Regions from separate parts of the Homo sapiens genome. Here region 2 is linked to region 1. The links are contacts of gene promoters, found by promoter capture Hi-C in blood cells and fetal thymus (Javierre and others, 2016). All regions are on one chromosome and are shown on one strand. Each heading gives the region's core, a stretch centred on a gene start or on the middle of the fragment in contact. The rest is flanking DNA. Distances are from core to core; before and after follow the strand shown.

Region 1 (5,682 bases), core at 2,121-4,620:
GTTGACATAACACATCTGCACTCATACAAATAACATATACACAGTAAGAATGATTTATCCATCCCTGTATTATGAGAATGGATTATAAACCTGTTGATTTTACAAAAATTAATTTAATACTGAAGAAACTTTAGAGATCTTTAAAATCTAGCAAACAATTAGTATGAAACAGCCATGTCGGAACTAAGTATTACTACAAATGCATAACATTCTGAGCATCAGACTATCATATATGGTACCATCAGAGGCAAGCAATGTGCTATTTTTAAAAGGAAGGGAAGACTTACTATACGCACGGTTGATGTGTTTGTAACATTCTTAATCTCTTTGCTCAGAATATTAAAATATATTTTTAAAGGACAGAGAACCGGCCAGGAACGGTAGCTCACGCTCGTAATCCCAGCATTTTGGGAGGTTGAGGCGGACAGATCACCTGAGGTCAGGAGTTTGAGACCAGTCTGGCCAACATGGCGAAACCCCATCTCTACTAAAAACACAAAAATTAGCAGAGGGAGGTGGCGCGCTCCTGTAATCCCAGCTACTCAGGAGGCTGAGACAGGAGAATCGCTTGAACCTGGGAGGTGGAGGTTGCAGTGAGCAGAGATCATGCCACTGCACTTCAGCCTGGGCAACAGGGCAAGACTCCATCTCGGAAAATAAAATAAAATAAAATAAAATAAAATAAAATAAAATAAAATAAAATAAAATAAAATAAAATAAATAAAAAACAGAACCACAACAGTATAAGTGTTTTCAAAAGTAGGTGATACTGATTTTTTTTTAATTTAGTTTTATGTTTGGCCATACTTTGAATATCTCCTACCAAAAAATTTCTAAGCAGATTTAAAAAACCTAAGTCGCATTTTTTAAAGAAATAACCTATAATAACTGATTTCACAAATAGAACATTTTTTATTAGTTTTTTGGCATCTTTGCTATATCATTTTTAATCCTCTATAACCCTCCCTTTTCCTTTAAGTGTTATTTCAACTTAAATTTAATTGTAAAAATGTCAGAAGACTTCCAAACTGGAATTTTGCAAAAGCAGGCATGAGAATACGGCACTAAAATTCACTTGCATTTCATGACTAATAATTTCATAAAACAAAATAAAGCAAAATAAAGTTTCCACCAAATTATATAAATGATTCATCCTATAGAGGGAGTGACAAAAATAAATTTCAACATTGGACTTGTAGTATACACTCATAAATAAATAATCTAATTTAAGTGCGACTCTGACAGACATGAGTCTGAATCTTGCCTCTGCCATTTACTACCTGTATTATCCTGGACAAGTTACTTAATCATACTAACCATCAGTTTCCTCATCTGTAAAATGAAAATGCCGACTACCTAACGATGTGAGAGAATTAAATGAAATGTATATAAAGTGTTTAGTAAAGCACATACTACACGTTGAGTCTTCAGCACATGTTATTTTAACAGGCAACAGTGTTCAATAAATAAATGTTATGTATACCTTATCCTGATTATAATTTTACAAGAGAAAAAATATATTTAAGCACTAGAAGTACAGTGAAAATATTTCATGATTCCATACGTGCTTCGAGCGCAATTCCTGAATTACCACAGATTACTGTCACACCATAAAAGTATGCAAGTAGCAATGCCCAGGCCAAAAGAATGAGAATTGAATGTAATACGTCCGTACCTATCCTGTGATAAATACATGCCTTACTAGATTTACTCATTAAAACCTGAATCTAAAAGGATGTGAAACCTATGTAGATGGAAATTTACACGCAAGGACCACCTGTCAAAAAGAAATAGTTCGCAACCTTCAGCAGTTTCGCTTTACTATTTTTTCCAAAGGCGTCTCCAGTGGCGATTAGCTACACTCAGTGTATATAATAAACACACTGTGGCATAATGAAAGGGAAATTACTTGCAATCAGAATGCCTAGGTTCAAATCTGCCTCTTACTACCTGTGTAAAGCTTCGACAAGCTATTAAAATAACGAAGCCTACATTTCCACATCTATAAAAGATAATACCTACCTATTCCACAGGCTTTTTACGAAGATGGAACGCGAATGTACATCAAGTGCCACATGTTATAGTTGAGGTATTTATTAAAGGCAAGACTTCTTTAAAAAAAAATAAGTCGTTATCAACTCATTACATAGATAATATCAAACTTTTTTCACTCATTATTGCACTCCATGACGGCGTTTGATAATTCATTTTCGTTTAAAATCGCCAAAATCGCAACCCATAAGGTTGAAAGACGCTCATACCCCCATAAATATACCTAAAGTAGAAAAGCATTTGCACGATAACCGGAACATCAAAAAAAGCAAAATTTAGTAATTTCCTCTATAAACTCACCACTCATTTAAAAACACAGCTGGTTAAAAATAATCTACTACCTTCAGTGGGTAAGAAAATGCGTTTGAAGAGACATAAGGTGTGGACGTTTATATCTTAAGTATTCATTTTACAAGGGTCAGTTTGTTCAATGTAACCGTATCCAAAACACAAGCAATCGCAAAACAAAACAAACAGAACCCTGCTTATAGGTGTCAAGGATTTAAAACCAAATGGATCGCAACAAAAGAGCCTCCCCGTTTAGTAAACAGATTCTCGAGCGGCAGGCAAGCCGAGGACCAGGCTTTTCAACAGGGGTCAGCTCACTCCACTCGGCCGTCATCTGGCGGGGTATTTTTCGCGAAGTTTCAAAGTCAACAAAGAAGTTCTGTCGCGAGGGGGTAGGGCCTGGCGAGCAATAGGCAGAAGGACGTAAAGAAAGACAAAACCCAGTGGGGGAAGGGTGCGGAAAACGCCCCCGGACGGCAGCGACAGAGGCCCCCTTTTCTGGGCCAGCGCGCGACGGCGGGGACAAGGGAGGCCACGCCGGCCTGCAGTAGCCCCGAGGCCCCGACCCCGGCCCCGGCCCCTGCCCGGCAGGGTCCCCGCCCCCCTCGGCGGCGCGGGCGGGAAACGGCGGGGGGCGCGCAGAGGGTCACCTTCCGCTCCCCGGCCCAGAGGCCCAGCGGGTGGACAAACGGCCCAGGCGTCCGCCCCGCCGCGATCCAGCAGCCCACCTCGAGCGCCGCGGACCTGGCCGGGGTACGAACCCGGGCGCCGACGCAAGGGCTCGGGCGCCGCGCGTCGCCGACTTACCTTCCTCCGCGGTGTCCATCTTGTCTGGGGGGGCGGCGGTGACGCAGCCACGAGGCTCCCGCGGCCGGGCGGGGAAAGAGGGAGGGGAGAGGAGGAGGGAGCCGGGCCCGGGCAGGTGCGTACGCTCAGGTGCGAGAGAGGAAGCGAGAGGAAGGAGAGGGGAGAGGGAGAGGGAGAGAGGCTGACAGAAAGCGAGCGACACGGGAGGGGGAGGGGCGGGAACACCTAGGGGCGAGGCCTGGGCGGGGCGCCGAGGCGGAAGGGGCGGGAGCTCCCCAACGACAGGCGCTGTCACTTCCGGCGGCCGCGGCGTGCACTGTCGGTCGGCGGCTAAGGAGGGGAGGCACCTGCATCTGGGGCGCGGCGAATCCTCGCGTGCGCCAGGCCGCCTGGGGTAGTCGCCGAGACTGCGCCGGCCAGCGGGGCCGAAACCTAATCAGGAGCTGAGCTTTGATGGCGGCTTCTGGAGGGACAAAGAAGGCGCAGAGCGGTGGGAGGAGGCTGCGAGAACCTAGCTCCCGCCCCAGCCGACGTGCGAGACAAAGGCCCCGGCGCGGGGCTCTTCGGAAGGCCGGGAGGTTCCTGTGACAATGCGAGTCTGCGCCCCACGCTCCCGCACCGTGATGCCGAGGCCAAATGGCTAGAGTGGGCCCAGGCATCAGCATTTCTGTTTGGCAGCCGGGCAGTTGTGGTGCACGTTTTGAGGAACTACTAAAGCCTGCCTGTGATGAAAAAGGCAAAAGCTGACTTCACCAAAATTACTCCCAGGGAGACTTCTGCATTTGGCTGGAAGGACATTTGAGTAAACCGCTGAGGCTGGTGGTTGAAACATAATCCTCTAAGGGAGATCGGTTCCGATACCCTGAGTTAGGGACGCTTGCCTGGGCAGAGCTAAGGGGAGAATGATCAAAAGCCAAGCTCTGTCCCCGTCAGCACGTCACCCTCCCTCACTGTAATCCCTGACTGTTTTCTCTAAATGAAGAATTATTTAGAGAATATAAATTAGAAGGGCCGCCACGTCAGAATTGCCTGAGTGGGAGCAGTCTTTCCAGCCTCGAAAAATGTTTAAACAATATGCAGATGACCTAGCACAAATAAAGAATGCTAGCAACCGCTGTTATGTGTGAGCGGTGGAATTGGGAGGGCTCTTCCCCCAATCTTCATCAAACAGAGTAAGGTTTAGAATAAAAATAATGAAATACAGTCTTTCAAAAAGAGCAGCGCTTGACTAATGTTACTGATGTCACTCATGTTACTCAAGGGAGGAAAGAACTCAAACTCTACATAATAATACCCACTGATTTCAAGGGCTGGCACGGAGAATTAAGCAGACCGCCATTCTTTATATTTGTTTTTTTGTTGTTGTTTGCTTATGATTTTTTTCTTTCTTTTTTTTTTTTTTTTTTTGAGAAGGGGTCTCGCACTGTCACCCAGGCAGGAATGCAGTGGCGCGATAATGGCTCACTGCAATCTCACTATATTGACCAGTATGATTTTCAACTCCTGTCTTTAAGCGATCCTCACGCTTCGGCCTCCCAAAGTGCTGGGGTTACAGACATGTGCCACTATGCCCTGCCTAAATATGTTTATATATACTACCGCCAAAGAAACAATTTGAAGACGATCTTTCCCCAGCCCCTCTCCTTCTGATCCAACTCCAAGAGCTCACCCTCCCTGTAAGACCTGTAGCAGAGCACGTATTGGCCTGCTGATACTAGGGGCAAAGACCGGGCCGATCAGATGTTACATGGCATAAGGGCGAAGGATTCTGAAAGAAAGACTGAGACTTGCTGGAGGAAGTACTAGTAGTGCCAAGGGCAGGTATGTGACCCTCGGAGCTGCAGAGCCAGGTTAGGATGAAGGGAATGTGTGTGTATGGGGGGCGTGGAGGAAGCCTTCCTTTTGTATTTAGGTGCCTTCCCTTGTGATGTTCAAAGGAAAGTTAACCTGTCAACCAGTTTTCCCTTCTGCATAGTAATTCCTTCTGGAATTGCCCTAACCTTTTCGCATTCAGACTTTAGGCGTTAAATATAAGAGTAATAAACCAACATTTGTTGAGTCCCCACTGTGAGTCAGGCACAAGTTCTCACAACAGCCCTTTGAATACATGAATCAGTCACACCTCTCTTGGTTGCCATTGACAGGAACTCAACTGTTAGGCAGAAGGGAGGAATGTACTGTTGATATGGACAGACTCCAAGAAGGGGAGGGACTGCTGGGACTACTAGAACGAGAATGCCTCTGCCCCTATGGCTCAGCTCTGCAACTCTCTCTGCACATTGGCTTCATGCTGTTAGACCAGCTTCCTCCATATGTCTGGAAACAAGGCCACTGACAGCTCCCAACATTTCATCTTCTGCCTCATCATCAGACAGGCGAGGTAAGGATGATGATCTCTAGTCCCAAGTTAAAAATTCTCAGGGAAGGCTAGTTCATTGGTCCAGCTAGTTGCCTGTCCGTGAATCAAATGATTGTGCCAAAGATCTAGGATCTTTAAGAACATGGACATTGTCATGTTCTTGTAACTGCCATTTC
Region 2 (5,682 bases), core at 1,188-3,687, 2.5 Mb after region 1:
GGAAACAGAATGTCTGCAAATGTTTCAGGAAGGAGAGATCTTGAAGAATGTGACAGATGTTTAAGAATGCAACATGTGTGTAGATGGTCACAGGAACCCCCTAGTGTGGGGCAATGCTGTTCATATGGCTGCTGAAATATGGCTGGTGAAATACAGGTAGTGTCACTAAGAAACTAATTATTAATCTTAACAAATGTTCATTAATTTAAATTTGAGTAGCTATATGTGGCCAGCAGCTCCTGTACTGGACACAGTAGGTCTTGGAAAACTGCAAAAAATCCCAGTTCTTTATAATACTCCCTACTCCTTTTCTATATTCCTAAGTTTAAAAACAAAATATTTTAACAGTACTAGTCAATTAACTGTGGATAAGTGGCTATATGGGAAAGCTGGGATGAAGGTCAGTTCTGGGTGTCTGGGAGCCATAATGTGGGGGTACTGAGATGTACCCCTAAGAAGACTGCCTTCTGCAAAGGCTATGGCAGTGCTGACAATGACTACCTCTGCCACCTGAAAGAAACACTTCAGCATTCTTAGGTCACACCTTACCCCTGCCCACACCTCCTTTCAGAGGCAACCCACATCCAATGTCTCATCAAAGACTACAAAGGTCCAGCCTCTTCGTTCCAACTCAGGACAACTCTGAAGACCCACCAGCTCCAGAGAACCCTGTGGGATTGGCTGAGGCCTTTGCTGAGACTGCACAGCAGCTCAGCTTCTCACTGTGCCCAATCCTGCTTCCATCCCTCCATGCCCAAAGATGATGCTGTCAAGAGGATGCCCTAAAAACATCTCATTGTTTGACTCCTGGGAACCAGCCTGTGACAGTCAGTGCCAGGGTAGCCTGGGAAAGATGCTAAAATGGAGTCTAGAGCTGGATCATCTGCCTGTTTGACAATGAGAACACCACACCAGTGAGAGAGCAGACAGACGGCACTGGCACACAGCAACAATGCAACCGTAAGTAGCAGGGAGTGCCAGTGGAAGCAAATGCATCACCTTGCAAGATCCATCAGGTGCTTGAGAACTAGAGAGAAACAGCAGAAGAGAAGACTGGTGGGACTTGGGGGGCTACTGCTAAAATTCACTCGCACTTGAAAAAAAATGCAAAAAGCTTAAAGGACAAATCACCAATTAAGAACTAAGTAAAACTAAAATAGAACTAAGCCAGGGGACATCCTCAGGAGCTTAGAAAGACACAGTCATCTCATGCAGCCCATGACAGTGAAGGCAGAGAAAGCCAAGGACTAACTGGGAAAAAAAATCTTGAATACTCAGATTCCCTTAAAAATCTTGACTACCCAGAACGCCTTAAAAATCTTGACTACCCAGATTCCCTTAAAAATCTTCCTACCCAGATTCCCTTGAACTCTTTGAGCCTGCAGATGTGGCCAGTCCCTCCCATGAAGAGTAAGAACTCCCTTCTCGCATCTGGATGGTGTAAGGACCTCTGCCCACAGCACATGCCTGTACCCCCACTACCACACCCCATCCCCTCTTCTGGTTGCTAGACCAATAACTGGGGTTGTTGCGACACACTCGGCCACTAAAGCACTGGGCTAGCTAAGGAAGGTAAGGGACTAACCCCTAAGAAAGTATACGACAGAGCACTATGCCCCCACAGGAGCTAGGAGAGAATGCACACAACACAGCTGAGGTCCTAAATTGAGGAGGGCAGAACACAGATGTAAAAAATGGGCAGCCCACAAAGGCACTGGATCAATCCTTACAATGAAAAGAAATCAAGGAGGCATGTAAAAGGAGCTGTAGGCCGCTGCTCCAATAAAAACGATCCTTTGCCCTGTTTCCAGACCTGCAACCCACTGACTGTAGGAGAGAAGAGGTCCCTAGGAGGAGGGACTGTGAGACACTATAGAAACTGTACTTGACAATGGCTTCTGCAGTCCTTCTCCCAAAGGGGAAATGTACACTGGGCTAAGGGGAATGTGCAAACATTCCAGGGTCTGTTAAGAGGGGGTTCAAATGAATGTTGTTACCCAGGGACCCAAAGCATCAGCATAGCTCATCTATGACAGCAAGGCACATGGGGGCCAGGCGGTAAATGGCGTCCTGGCCCAGGACCTCCAGTGGCCACTCAGCAGCTGGCACAGGGCAACACCGAATTATTGGCCTATGACGTTAAGATCTATCATCATGGGGAGGGCCAAGAAGAAGTCTCTGAATTTGACGCCATCCTCCTCCCTAAACACCAAGATAGAACAAGAGAAACAAAATAGCATCCTGAGAGAAATGACATCCTTAAAAAGCTGGAGGACACAGGGGATGGTCTCTATCGTATCTCCATTTAATTCACCAGTTTGACCACTGCAAAAACCACATAAATCCTGGGGGATGACACTGAACTACTGGAAACTCAAACAAGAAACAGGTCCACTGTAACCTCCGTGCAAGCTGGTTTTCCTTAACAAAGTAGACTAGCATGGCCTCAGGTACACGGACAATGATTTAGTCAAAGTGCTCCTTCCCAACCCTATCACTAAAGAGGATCAGAAACAGTTCACTTTGCGCTGGAACAATGTATAAATTTACAATTATGCCCCAGGGCTATCATAAGTCCTGCCTGCTGTTATAAGAGTCTGAATAAATGTGGAACACCTGCAAAGCACCACACTAGCCTACTCTATCAGGGGCATCGTGCTATCAGACTGAATGAGCAACGAGGAGTAGCCAGGACAGTGCGGTCTTTGGTAAGACCCATGCCCTATGCAATTAAAGGGCCTGCAGTGCCAGCACAATTTTTAGGGTTCTAACAGTTTGGTGCACGTCAGGACATCCCCTCCCAAGTGAAGGCCACACTAGTGCACCTTGTACCTCACTTCTAGAGAGAAGCAGAACCACTGCTAAGTCTCTTCAGGATCTGTGGGTAGCACATTCCATACCTGGGAGGACTGCTGAGACCCAAATACCAGGTGACAGAAAAGGCCACCAGCTTTGCGTGGGGCCCAGAGCAGGAGAGGGCTCTACAGCAGATCCAAGTGACAGTGCTCGTTAACAGGTCCTGCCGCTCTACCACACAACCCAGAAGACCCTCTGGTTATTAGAGGTAATACTTCCACATGGCAGAAAGGTACCATATGGAGAGGAGCTGACTGAGGCCTTTGTTGAGACTGCATCGCAGCTCAGCTTCTCACTGTGCCCAATCCTGCTTCCAACCCCTCTGTGCCTCAAGGCAATGGTCCCAAGAGGATGCCCTACAAAACATTCTTTTTTTCCCAATTCTTTACTCTCTCAGTATATTATTTCATATTTATATTGTCTCTCTTAAGTACTTCAGATTTGTTAAATCTTTTAACTACATTATTAACAACTCAAGCCTATTTAATGACACTTTCTATTAAGAAAAAACCCAGAAACTTTTTTTTTTTTTTTTTTTTTTTGAGACGGAGTCTTACTCTGTCGCTCAGGCTGGAGTGCAGTGGCGCAATCTTGGCTCACTGCAACCTCCGCCTCCCGGAAAAAACCCATAAACTCTTAACAGATCTTCCGGCTAATTTAAAACTCCTAGTCAGATTAATGATTAATCTCTATCCCCGCTGCCATGAACTGATCCTGTCTGTGGTGCAACACTGCACTCTGCTCCCACCAGTCCAGGCATAAGTTGTGTCTGTTCCCAAACCAGACTGAGATACACTTACTGCAATTATCTCACTTAAACAATTCACAAAATAATGAAGTACAAGTGCAAAAACAATAGCCCATAGTTGTTTATACACAAAATCATACTTACATGAAAGCTTTAGAAAGACATTATAAAAGATGCTAAAAAAAATTGCTATCATACCAGGTGTTTACAAACAGTGCTAATATACAAGAAAGATGCTGCATCCAAATTATTTCTTAAATGTCTAAATCTGTCTTCATTAAAAAAAACAAGAAATTAAAACTGGTAATAGCTGCAGTAAGGGTGTGGTTTTTGTAAGAAAAGTCCATGTGGAACTCCAAACAGCCACTCAACAGAAAGAGGGCTTAGCCCTGCATTCAAAGACTGCCTGCTCTGGAAACTTATTTTAAGCAGGTTAGAAAAACTTCAGGGTACCATACACTGCCTGTGGGGAGAAATTAGCTATTATGCAATGTGATACTCAACTCACTGCCCACACAACTCATCTCTGTTTGACTCATCTAAAATGAGAAACCAAGTTGTTAGTTCTCCAAAATAATGATGAAACTGAGTTCTTATCTACTTCTTCAAATACAGAAGTAATAATACAAGACCTTTTGTAATACCTGGGTGGGAAAACTTTTACTGGAAGGGGCCAAATGCCTTAGGCATTGCAGGCCCCTGTGGTAACCACTAACTCTGCTATTGCAGCTCAAAAGCTGTCATAGACACTACCTAAATGAATAGGCATGGCTGTGTTCCAGTAAAATCTATTTACAAAAGAAAGGCTCTGGGCCACATTGGGCCAGTAAGCCATAGTTTGTTGACCTCTCTTCTAATGTAATAATAATTTAAAAGCCCAAAGCAAACATCCATGATTAAATAGCATCTATAGCATAAAGAAAAACTTCCTTACCTGGCCAAGAGACTCCTGCAGATGTACCTGTAAATATTCTGGGGGTAAACCAGGAATATTCAGAGAGGCTTGTGAGAGTGGGGGTACCGAACGGGTAAGTGAGGACTCAAAGTCTTCAATTACAACATTGGATTGGTTGCTGTTCACTGCATTTTGCTTCAAAACCTCAGAATCCTTTCTTCCTGAATCATCGAATCTCAGAAGCTCGACTTGAGATTCAATGTGTAGCAGCTCTGACTTCACAAGGTCTGTCCTCGAGGATGCAGGTGATGCCACCGGGAGTGCGCCACTTATCTCCTCTTGTCCTCTGCTTGACCTAAAATGCTTTCTGAGGGCTGGCCAGAGTCCAGCAATCCACGGCTCAACCACAAGTTCTAAACTGGACAGTAAAAACAAACGAAAAACAAAACAAATGCCTAAGTTCTCCATCTGAACACAGAACAGGATAATGACAGTCTGTCCATTTGGCAAAGTATGCACTTGTTAGAAACACTATGAAGACCATTCGGAATACAAAAAATACTTCATGATTAAGTTTTAACAAGCAGGATATATTATGTGTTCATTAGCACCGTAGCTGAAAACATGAGTATGTATAAAGGTAGAAGAAATGAAGAGGGATAGGAAGATATTCTAGTAATAGGATGACAGGAATAGAATTCCTCCTAATATTCCAGAATTGGTAAACTTTATTTTAAGAAGATATAATTTTAAATAGGCATACTAATGCTAACAGAACTTAACCAAAATCCAAGGCTACCATAATGCTGCAAATGCTCATTCCATCCATCAAATGCACCTTTTTTTTTTTTTTTTTTTGCCTAGCCAATTTACTGATCTACTGATCTGTTTCCTACAGATTAAAATATCACCAAGAAATCACTATGGATTAATGCCAAGTCCTTGGACTAAATAAATAGTTAAAGCCTTTATTTATTTTTTTATTTTAGTAAAATTCCCAGGGAGGCTGACAACAGGAGAAAAAAAAAGCAACCCTCCTTTGGGAAAGTTGAATTCATCATAAATAGATTTTTTAAATGTGGCAGTCCACCTACTACTAACAAATTATCATAACAACAGCCATTCCCTGAACAGAGAAGTTTAAGTAGAGTCAGTGGATAAGACTGTGGCAGGGCTGTGGAAA

What was found. The method cuts DNA at HindIII sites, captures the fragments that hold promoters and counts their contacts. A CHiCAGO score of 5 or more calls a contact.
Region 2: a fragment that was not itself captured here is called in contact with the fragment with the promoter of MARCHF6 in region 1 in 12 of 17 cell types (total CD8 T cells, total CD4 T cells, activated CD4 T cells and 9 more); the score reaches 11.2 in total CD8 T cells.

What each region holds. Positions count from the first base shown.
Region 1 is chr5:10,351,383-10,357,064 of GRCh38, reverse strand. MARCHF6 (membrane associated ring-CH-type finger 6) reads right to left here and starts at 3,370. Exons shown (of 26, transcript NM_005885.4): 1 at 3,148-3,370. The coding sequence starts at 3,166. MARCHF6-DT (MARCHF6 divergent transcript) reads left to right here and starts at 3,008. Exons shown (of 3, transcript NR_183261.1): 1 at 3,008-3,093; 2 at 5,292-5,527. RefSeq lists enhancers at 2,134-2,705, 3,552-3,811 and silencers at 2,762-3,231, 3,272-3,411. The HindIII fragment of the contact is 4,878 bases long and covers 1,963-5,682 here.
Region 2 is chr5:7,877,179-7,882,860 of GRCh38, reverse strand. It overlaps MTRR (5-methyltetrahydrofolate-homocysteine methyltransferase reductase), which reads right to left. Exons shown (of 15, transcript NM_002454.3): 5 at 4,539-4,917. Among named protein-coding and RNA genes, the nearest start is that of MTRR, 11 kb to the right of the region's middle. The HindIII fragment of the contact is 2,641 bases long and covers 1,117-3,757 here.